Linked DNA regions of Homo sapiens: regions 1 and 2 are each linked to region 3. The links are contacts of gene promoters, found by promoter capture Hi-C in blood cells and fetal thymus (Javierre and others, 2016). All regions are on one chromosome and are shown on one strand. The core of a region is centred on a gene start or on the middle of the fragment in contact, and the rest is flanking DNA. Distances in the headings are between cores, read along the strand shown. Region 1 has its middle 26 kb from the start of FGF12. Region 2 has its middle 51 kb from the start of FGF12. Region 3 holds the start of ATP13A5-AS1 (ATP13A5 antisense RNA 1).

The links. The method cuts DNA at HindIII sites, captures the fragments that hold promoters and counts their contacts. A CHiCAGO score of 5 or more calls a contact.
Region 1: a fragment that was not itself captured here is called in contact with the fragment with the promoter of ATP13A5-AS1 in region 3 in 1 of 17 cell types (M0 macrophages); the score reaches 6.1 in M0 macrophages.
Region 2: a contact is called between a fragment that was not itself captured here and the fragment with the promoter of ATP13A5-AS1 in region 3, in 1 of 17 cell types (M0 macrophages). The highest score is 6.7, in M0 macrophages.

What each region holds. Positions count from the first base shown.
Region 1 is chr3:192,752,109-192,755,693 of GRCh38, forward strand. No RefSeq gene overlaps it. Among named protein-coding and RNA genes, the nearest start is that of FGF12, 26 kb to the left of the region's middle. The HindIII fragment of the contact is 720 bases long and covers 1,828-2,547 here.
Region 2 is chr3:192,776,801-192,780,031 of GRCh38, forward strand. No RefSeq gene overlaps it. Among named protein-coding and RNA genes, the nearest start is that of FGF12, 51 kb to the left of the region's middle. The HindIII fragment of the contact is 956 bases long and covers 1,066-2,021 here.
Region 3 is chr3:193,305,971-193,309,452 of GRCh38, forward strand. ATP13A5-AS1 (ATP13A5 antisense RNA 1) reads left to right here and starts at 1,274. Exons shown (of 2, transcript NR_046758.1): 1 at 1,274-1,430. It overlaps ATP13A5 (ATPase 13A5), which reads right to left. Exons shown (of 30, transcript NM_198505.4): 22 at 1,357-1,399. The HindIII fragment of the contact is 1,083 bases long and covers 619-1,701 here.

The sequences.
Region 1 (3,585 bases), core at 938-3,437, 550 kb before region 3:
GGAACCCAATATTGAAAGCTTTCGTGTTTCTTCAGAAAACATATGAATATTCTTAATAAGTGGGCTAAGTAAAGAGTATAAACAACTTCATATAAGGACAGGACAAGTTTTGTGACCAAGAGCATTTGCTATACATTTACAGAAAAACTATCATATTTCAGAGCATTTTGGACTTCAGAATTATAGATAAGGGATTGTACACCCACACAACTACTCAATTTGTATAACTACTCAATCTAATCAACTACCATTGGTGACTCCATTTGTCCCTCTAAGAGAGTCATCAATATTAGTTGACTTGTATTGAGCCGATTTTTCCTATGGCCCTTTATGTCTTCATAATGAAACACCACAGAAAATAAAATAGACGAAAAGTGTCATTAATTACAAAAAATTAGCCAGTCATCATAGTGCGTGCCTGTGGTCCCAGCTACTCAGGAGGCTGAGGTGGGAGGATCACTTGTGCCTGGGACGTGGAGGTTACAGTGAGCCAAGATCATGCCACTGCACTCCAACTTGGGTGACAGAGTGAGACCCCATCTCAAAAAAAAAAAAACAAAGTCTCGCTTGTTCTCACTCATAAGTGGGAGTTGAACAATGAGAACACATGGACACAGGGAGGGGAACATCACACACCAGAGCCTGCTGGGGGTGGGAGGCAAGGGGAGGGAGAACATTAGGACAAATATCTAATGCATGCAGGGCTTAAAACCTAGATGACGGGTTGATAGGTTCAGCAAACCACCATGGCACATGTATACCTATGTAACAAACCTGCACATTCTGCACATGTATCCCAGAACTTAAAGTGAAATTAAAAAAAAAAAAGTCACTATTGATAAGTATTTTTGCATCCTCTTCCTTTCAAAAGCAGTGTCTTTGTTGCTGGCAGTGAGAGCAAGTACCTGCCTCCATTTAAATCATCAATGTGACCAAGGACAGAGGATGCAGGCTAGTCTGAAGATGGTCATCGCTATGGACTGAATTGTGTATCCCACCCAAAGTCATATGTTAAGGCCCTAACCACTGATTTGACTGTATTTGGACATAAGGCCTATAAGGTGGTAATTTAGGTTTAGGTAATGAGGTCACAAAGGTGGGTTCCTGATCTGATGATATTAGTGTCCTTATAAGAAGAGATACCAGAGTGTACTTGTGTGCATGTGTGCATGCGCTCTCCCTCTCCCTCTCCCTCGCACACACCATGTAAAGTCACATTTTACCATCTGCAAGTCAGGAAGAAAGCCTTCAGCAGGCACCAGCAAGCACTTTGCTCCTGGACTTTGTAGCCTCCAGAACTGTGGGAAATAAGTTTCTGTTGTTTAAACCATCCACTCTGTGGTATTCTGTTATAGCAGCCTGAACTGACTAATACAATTGTTGTTAGAATTCTGTTTCTCGGACTGGCTATATTTGCATGCCCTATACACAGTCAGAAGTCTTACTCATGGTTACATTTATTGAACACTAAGCTCGATGTTGGGAGGCCTAAATTCTAAACTTGACTCTCTGCCACCAACTAGAAGTGTGAATTGGGACACATCACTTCCTTTCTCAGGAGCTCAGTTTCTCAATTGTAAAAAGAGTTATGCCCTGGATAATCTCTAAGTTTCCCTCCTGCAATGACTTTCTAAGCTGCTGGGAATTTAATCACATCCAGTTTCCATTTCCCAGTAATGCTTTTTGGCAAGGCTAGGAAACAACTCAAGAATCATTTATGCTATCCCTTCTCCTCACTCTACCGCCAAGACAATTTGTGTTGCTCTCACACTTACCTCCGGGGTGTTAGCAAAATCAATGGAGCTCTTTGTGTTTCTCAGATGGAAAAGCTTCTCATGAGTGTCCTTGTAACTTGATTGTGGTTAGAGCTGCTTCATGCATTGCTGATGGCCTGCACTTCTGAAAGGTGCTGAGGTAAATGCAAATTACAGCAGGGCCAATTTTGGGATAGGAAATAATTCTTCCCAAGATACCCATCTGGCAATATCCCATGAGGTCAGGAGGCAAAGATTAGGTAAATATCATCCACTACATCTATAAACTACCTTCGCAGCAGTGGCCAGGTCAAGAAAAGAGACACAGAGGCATGACAGTGGCTTCTTCCATCAAAAGAGCTTTTGTACTGCTTTTGCTTTTCCCCTTGCTTCTGGCCAGGGATGCCTAACACTGTAATTGTTTCTGGGTCAAGTTGAGGGATGAGTCCATTCCCTCTGCCCACCCACAATGTATTATCAGTTTCCTACATACCATCCCCAGTTCTGATCTTCAGTTCTTCCTTGTTCTTCCACCCCCGCCCCCAATCCCCAAGTCTGACTACATTGCTTTCTCTCTTCTCCTCCTCCTAACACATCAAAGGGATAACAGCTCCACAAGAGGAAATGTTTAATTTTACCATCTAATCAGTACCCAAACTGAAATACAGCTGATGTATCATAATTGACATGGCCTGCACCATCTTGAAGTCACATTGCCATGTTCTCAAAATATTTACAGAAGTATTTCTGCCAGAGATTTCCAATTCTTGCTGTGCATCAGACTCATTTGAAAAGCTTATTAAAAACACAGATGTCTAGGCTAAATTGCAGCCATCCTATACCAGAACCTGCAGGTGAAGAAGCCCTAGAATATGCATTTCAACAAGCTCTATAATACTCCTTAGGCAATTAGCCTAATATTAGTCATTTGGGAAATATAATGTTGTTTCTTGCTCATAGAAGCAGAAATCTTATGTCTTTAATCTTGATTTTTTATTAATTATAAATCTTTGTTACATAGAATAAAAATATAATTCTACTACTTTAACAACCGAAAAACATAAGAACATTGGAGTGGATCATGAAACTCTAAGAAAGACTGCAGCTGGGCTCAAGAACAATGAAAAAGTCACTTTCCAGATGTTTTCTATTTCATATCTTGAGGGGCTTCTGAATATTGATTTGGCTTTTCCGTCTCACCTCAGACTGGCTTTCTCCTCTCCTCAGTAGCAGAATGTAACTGCTGCAATTTCCCAAGTGTTACATATTTCAGTCCATTTATACAGATAACTTTCTTTTCTAAGGCCAAATTCTCAGGGAAAGATTCAAATTGGATTTGAAGGTATCAAGTGTCCACTTTACCCGAAGTACACACACACACACACACACACATTCATATTCTCTCTCTCTCTTTCATGAACCATGGTGCAGATTCTATTAAAGGATTTCTGAATCTCCCATATTTGCATCAAGTGGTTCCTTTGGCTGCTTATGATAGCTGGGGTGAGACTGATGTGGAAGCTCTCTCAGTCACCCTATCCTGTGAGTTTGGTGGGTAGCAGCAATTCTCAGACAATTGTAGGAAGCTCCTACAAAGGGGCAGTTCTAGAAGAAAGTGCTAGGTGAGCAAAAGAAGAAAAAAGGTACGTACTACAATATATTTCTCTTAGTGCCCATCATAGTGCTTTGCTCCTAATAAATGCTCAATACATATTAATTAAATAGAGAATGGGCCAGAACTAGTCAGAAGTCCTGATTTTAAATGACAGTACCAACAGTGATTAGCCATGTAAACATCAAACCTCTCAAGAGTTTCTTTATCTAAAGAATG
Region 2 (3,231 bases), core at 294-2,793, 530 kb before region 3:
TTCATAGATTGGAAGATAAAATTTCCCAATTGTAATTGGAAGATTGCATCTTTTGATTGCATCTTTTCTACAAATTATTAAATGTTCCACTCCCCAAGTTAATCTATAGATTTAACACCATCACAATCAGTGCTGGCATGCTTTGTGTATCTGTGAATATTGATAAAAACTGATTCTGAAATTTATATGAACACACACACAAAACCTACAATAGCCAAGACTGTCTTGAGAAAGGACTTACACCCCTAGAGTTCAGGACTTTAAAGACACAGTAATTAAAAGTGTGGCATTGACATAAGCAGAGAGACATTAAACATAAAACACAATAAAGTGTTCATGAGTGTGTGTGTTTGTGTGTATGTTTGTGTGTGGTCATTTAGTTTTTAACAAAGGTACCTCAGCAATTCAGAGAGGATAAGATGATCTTTTAATAAATTGTACTAGGTCAATTGGACATCCATATAGAAAAGAAAAACAACCTTAATCCCAAACCTCACATCATACAAAAATTTAATTTAAGGTAGATTATAATAAAAATTTAACTTAAGATAGATTATAAATCTAAATAGTAAAAGGTAAAACAATAAAGCTTTTAGAAAAAACAAACGAGAATAATTTCAAGACATATTTGTCAGGTAAAGAAATTTTAACAGAACACAAGTAACAATTATCATAAAAGACGAGAGAACTTGTGGCCTTTTTTTTTTTTTTTTGAGATGGAGTCTCGCTCTGTCGCCCAGGCTGGAGTGCAGTGGCACGATCTCGGCTTACTGCAAGCTCCACCTCCCGAATGCACGCCATTCTCCTACCCCCATTGTATCTAGGAAGTAACTAGCTTGCTTTTGATCTAGGAAGTAACTAGCTTGCCTCCTGAGTAGCTGGGACTACAGGCACCTGCCACCACACCTGGCTAACTTTTTGTGTTTTTAGAAGAGATGGGGTTTCACTGTGTTAGCCAGGATGGTCTTGATCTCCTGACCTCATGATCCGCCGCCTTGGCCTCCCAAAGTGCTGAGATTACAGGCATGAGCCACTGTGTCTGGCCGAGAACTTATGGACTTTAAAAGCTTCTGTTCATCAAATACATCATTAAGAGGATAGAAAGAATAGGCAGAGAAAGATGTTTAAAATACATTTTAGATAAAGGACTTGTTTCCGAAATATATAGAGAACAATTACATATTAATAAAGAAAGACAAAATAACACAATTTCAAAAATGGGCAATAACTTGAACAGGCAATTTACCAACAAAGATATAAAAATATCCAGTAAGTGTAAGACAATCTATTAAACACCATTGGTTATTAGAAAATGCAAATTAAGACCGGGTGTGGTGGCTCACGCCTGTAATCCAAGCATTTTGGGAGGCCAAGGCAGGTGGATCATGAGGTCAAGACATAGAGACCATTCTGGCCAACATGCTGAAATCCCATCTCTACTAAAAATACAAAAATGAGCTGGGCGTGGTGGTGTGCACCATGTAGTAGCAGTCTCAGGACTGAGTAGTCCCAGCTACTCAGGAGGCTGAGGCAGGAGAATCGCTTGAACCCAGTAGGTGGAGATTGCAGTGAGCTGAGATGGCACCACTGCACACCAGCCTGGTGACAGAGTGAGACTCCATTTCAAAAAAAAAAGAAAATGCAATTTAAAACTATAATGAAACACCTGTATGTACCCACCAAAGTGACTACAAATTAGAAAAAAAAAAAAAAAACTATCAACACAATGTGTTGGTAAGAATGTGAGACAACTGGAAATCTCATACATTCATGGTGGAAGTATAAAGTGATACAACACTTTAGATACCTGGAATGATCTACTATCCTCCGAGTCAAAAATTCTATTTCTAGGTATATACCTAAAAGGAACAACTGCATATGTCTAACAAAAAAGTGTGCGAAATGTGCATGTCAGCATTCTTCCTAACCATAAAATACTGCCAAAAATAGCCCAAAGCTGGAAACAACCCTAATGTCCCCAGATGGATTGTAGACATAAATTCGAATTAGAAAAATCATAAAGCTTTTAAAAGATAATATAGAAGAATGACTTCAACTATCAAGTTAGGAAGAAATTTCTTTAATTTGTTATTTATTTATTTTATTTTACTTTAAGTTCTGGGATACATAAACAGTGTGAAAAGATTGATATACTTTATATTAAAACAAAATTAAGACCTCTGCTTTTCAAAACATAAGCAGAGGTCTTAATTTCATTTTAATATGAAAGAGAATGAAAAGGCAAGTCACAGAGTGGGAGAAAATATTTGAAACATTTTTAAGTAACAATCTACTTTGGTTTTATGTCCAAAAGGTTTGAAGGTATGAGTACTAGGAGACATGGATGAAAATATCCACAATAGTATTATTAATAAGTAAATACTGGGGACGAGTTAAATATCCATCAACAGCAAATAGTTAAATAAATAGTGGCATGTTTATATAGTGGAATATCAGACAGCATTGGAAGTTAACAAACTACTGCTTCCTGAAACACCATAGGTGAATCTCACAAACATAAAATTGAGTGAGAGAAACCAAACATGAAAAAATGATTCCATTTATACAAAATGTTAAAACACAGTCAAACTAATCACCTAAAAATGCAGAGGGCTACAGAAAAAACATAAAGAAAAGAAAAAGAAGAGATTATCATAAAATTGGACACAGTTATATTTATTAGGGGAAAAGAAGGTTGGAATTGGGAAGAAGCATAGATGGGCTGAGGGTGCTGGATAAGTTCTGTTTCTTGACCTCAGTGGTGGTTAAATGGGTGTTCACATTTACAAAAATTTGTTAACGTGAAGCTGCATATTTACATTTGTATGTATTTCACTTAATGGCATATTTCACAATAAAGACTGTCTGAAAACACTATATAGGAACTGTATTTTCATTATCTGCCCATAACTATATGCTTACTCTTGGAAGTATTATCTCACTCACTTAAAGACTATAATCTCAAAGGTCTAAAATAATTTTATAGTTCTCCTTTCATTATGAAATATAAAATAGAAGAGAAAATTATATCTCAGTAATTTTTCCTTACTATTCTCATTTCACAGTCTATACCTTCTCTCTCTTATACAATATAAAAAAATTACAGTTGGTTCTGAATAACAAATTGGTATAAAACTGAGCAAAGGTGGAAAGTTAGCAAGATAAGATGAGATGTCTTCATAAAGAAGCAACTTCTATAATTTCTGTCAGTTCCCAAATACTGAGTTGGAA
Region 3 (3,482 bases), core at 24-2,523:
CCCTCATTCAAAAACTCAATTAAAAAGATGACAGAATTTGGATGGACGTTGGTTGGGGACCTTCACCGTTTCAGTTCTTGTACCTGGTGGGAATCTTCATGAACAAAGGTGAAAGAATTCCTAGGCCGATCCTATAAGAATTGTGTGGGCATAAAATGAACTTTTATATATCTGTAGTTCCACAGAACTACAGAGTACCTGGCGCCATGAGTACATACTAGATTCAGGTTTAATAAATAATAGGACATTTTCTTCTTCCTCTTTGATCTCTAGTTCGTATCTCTATTATGTACTTTAGGACCATCTACTTTATGTTAGGGTTAGTTTTATTCATGATTCTTTCTTCATCAGACAATGAACTCTTTAGGAGGCAGAGACTATGTCCCTTTTTGCATTTGATTTTTTTGTTTTATTCTAAACGCCACATAATTAATGTGAGAGGATACGTATTCTAGATTTGAAAGAACAGACTAAAAATTAGCTTTTTCTCATGAAACATAAAGCAAAAAACATCTCTAGCTATAAAAATTTCTAGCTATAAACACAGTTTTCACAGAAATTTGGAAATAATATTTAAGAGAGAAATAAAACAAATACCAAGATCTTAAATCTCTAATAAGCTTTGGAAATACAAAGAAATCTTCCTCACTTCTTGTCCCATAAATCAGCTACTGAAATATTTCCTTAAGTACATAATCTTGAAGGTAGACTATTTGTTTCCTTCATGTCTTTAAAACTCAGAATATAAAACATTCACTGCCCTTCTACTGCATATGAAAAATAATTTGCTGATAATCATTTTATTTAGCTTTTTCTATAGCATAAAATAACTAAATAGTTTGGTCTAGGATTTTACTGAGTGAAAGAGTTCTGGGTGAAGCAAACTTAAAAACTAACCAGAGAATGAAAGTTTGGCAGGAATAAATATAATTTACATATAATTCAAAACTTTAATCATCAGTTTCAAACTTCGTTTCATTGAGTCTTTATCAGTTGTGTGACCTTGGGAGGGGGGAAGAAATCACCTCCTTGAGAAATCATTTCATTACTGATAACAGGAAAGATTTAAAGCAGATAGACTTGTAAAGTTCCATCTTTGGAACCTGAAATATGGGAGTCTAAGTAGCCTTCCTTTGTGTTTATTATTCTAGGAGTTTCCAGAAAGCATCGGAAGTGTCTCATCTCCCTTTACTCCCCTCCGCTTCCAACCCACACTCAGGTAGAGGTGGATATAAACAGCAAAATAATCAAATGGTTGCTGGTGGAAGGATGAAGAGACAAACCCCAGGAGAGCCTGAGGTCCTCCAGAGGGATATTAGTGAGTGGCTTGTCTGAGCAAAAGCCATTTCTACTCACCCCACAGTCGTTAGCTCCATCTCCACACATGCCCACATAATAACTGCGGGAGACAGGAGAAGAAGGATTAATAGGTAAGAAAAATGAACAGCTCACTTGAATATTTTCCATCATAACTAAGTCACATGTGATTTGTGTGTATGTGTGTGTCCCCTGAACACACCTGGAATCAGGCTGAAGAAAAATGGTTTGGAGAGACATATTCCCAGAGGGAAAAGGCAGTTGCGTTATTTAAGTTGTTTCAATCAATCACATTGAAATGGTAGTGATATAACCAAGGACATCGGCAAAACAGTGATTGCACACTTTAAAAGAAGTCCTGCTTGATGATACGCACCAAGGCCAAGCTTAAGAGTATGCAGTCATGAGCAGAGCACTTCCCACACAACCTAATGCAGAGATCATAACCCAATCCAGCTGCATTTTAGTCACTGACTGTTGCTGAGCATTTACAGCTCAAATACCAGGATGAGAAATTTCAAAAACAGTTTAACAGATATAACTAGAGACATATATTCATATTTTTGATGCATGTCAGGGTGAAAATAAGATATGTTTTCCATCTATATCAGTTTGGTGTGCAAGCACAATACAAATAGAAGAGTAAAAATTAATACGGCTGCCAAAGAAAAGGAGTTTCAGATGTAAGACACTGCCTGCCTTCTATTATAAGTTATACATTATAAGTATTGATAAATGACAATATTCTTAAAGACTTAGCTGCATTTTTCTAAAAACAGAGTTATGAAATCAATAAGGAGAAAAAATAAAGTTTTGTTAGCGTTTCGTTATTATTAGTTAATGCATAAGAAACAACCACTTTTATAGGTCAAAAACAGTTAATTAAATGTGGCCAGGCACGGTGGCTCACACCTGTAATCCCAGCATTTTGGGAGGCTGAGGCAGGCGGATCTTGAGGTCAGGAGTTCGAGACCAGCCTAGCCAACACAGTGAAACCCCATCTCTACTAAAGATAGAAAAAATCAGCTGGGCATGGTGGTGTGCTCCTGTAATCTCAGCTACTTGGGAGGCTGAGGCAGGGGGATTGCTTGAACCTTGGAAGCGGAGGCTGCGGTGAGCCGATATTGCACCGCTGCACTCCAGCCTGGGCAACAAAGCGAGACTCTGTCTCAAAAACAAAAAAAAGTCAAATGTAGGCACACCCCTATGGTTCAATCCGATACTGGGCTGTGTAGATGAAAATAATCATGCTATATATGTTCATGTCATGACTACCCACAATTGTTGAAAAATGGCTCCTTCTTTCAGGCTTAAAGCACATATTTAGTCTCTATATCACATCAAGAATCTTATCATCTTCTAGTATTCCCTGAATTCAGAAAGAGAATGCAGACAGCCTTATGCACATTGCCAATGACAAAGGCATGAGGAGGAAGATTGGGATGTTGAGAAGACAGCTCATTCTGAGGCAGTGTGTGTCTTCCTGAATTCATTTTTTAAGGGGAATATGGCTTTTCAAAGTTAGGCATTTTAGTTGGCAAAATTTCTCAGGCATTTGAAAAAGGTAAAATTACTTTCTTCAGCAATATCATGTAATGATCATGTGAATGAAATAGTCATTTAGTCACTGGTTACTTACCCAGCCTCAGGCATTCTGGAAGTTAATAGGCAGTTTGTAAGACTTCCCTATGAATGCTTGGGTAACAAAATCTAACAATAAAAGGGTGTCTCCTGATTTCACCAACAACTCACCAGCCATCATCTAAAGATTCACTACCCTATGTTCCTTTTCACTTCCTAGACTCTGCAGCCCCAAACTGTTACATTCCCAGAAACCAGTAGGTAGATCTGGTCTCAAGAAGTACCATTTCACTATAAGGTAACTTGGTCATCTTTATTTTTGAAGGGGGTAATAAAGGACTTTCTCTTGACTTTCCCTGCTGGGGCCAGATAAAGGCAAAATGCTATTTCACCTCTTGCTAAGAAGACCAGAAATTATTCACATATCTTCTAATGGACCAACCTAAAATAATTCCAGGGTATAACGCACCTACTTCCCCATTTTTCTGATTCTAAGCTATACAACCTGCCCCACTATTTCTGCTACATCCAAGCATGGGAGGGTTCTCTAAGATATATGCCTTATGGCCCACAGAACAAATGCT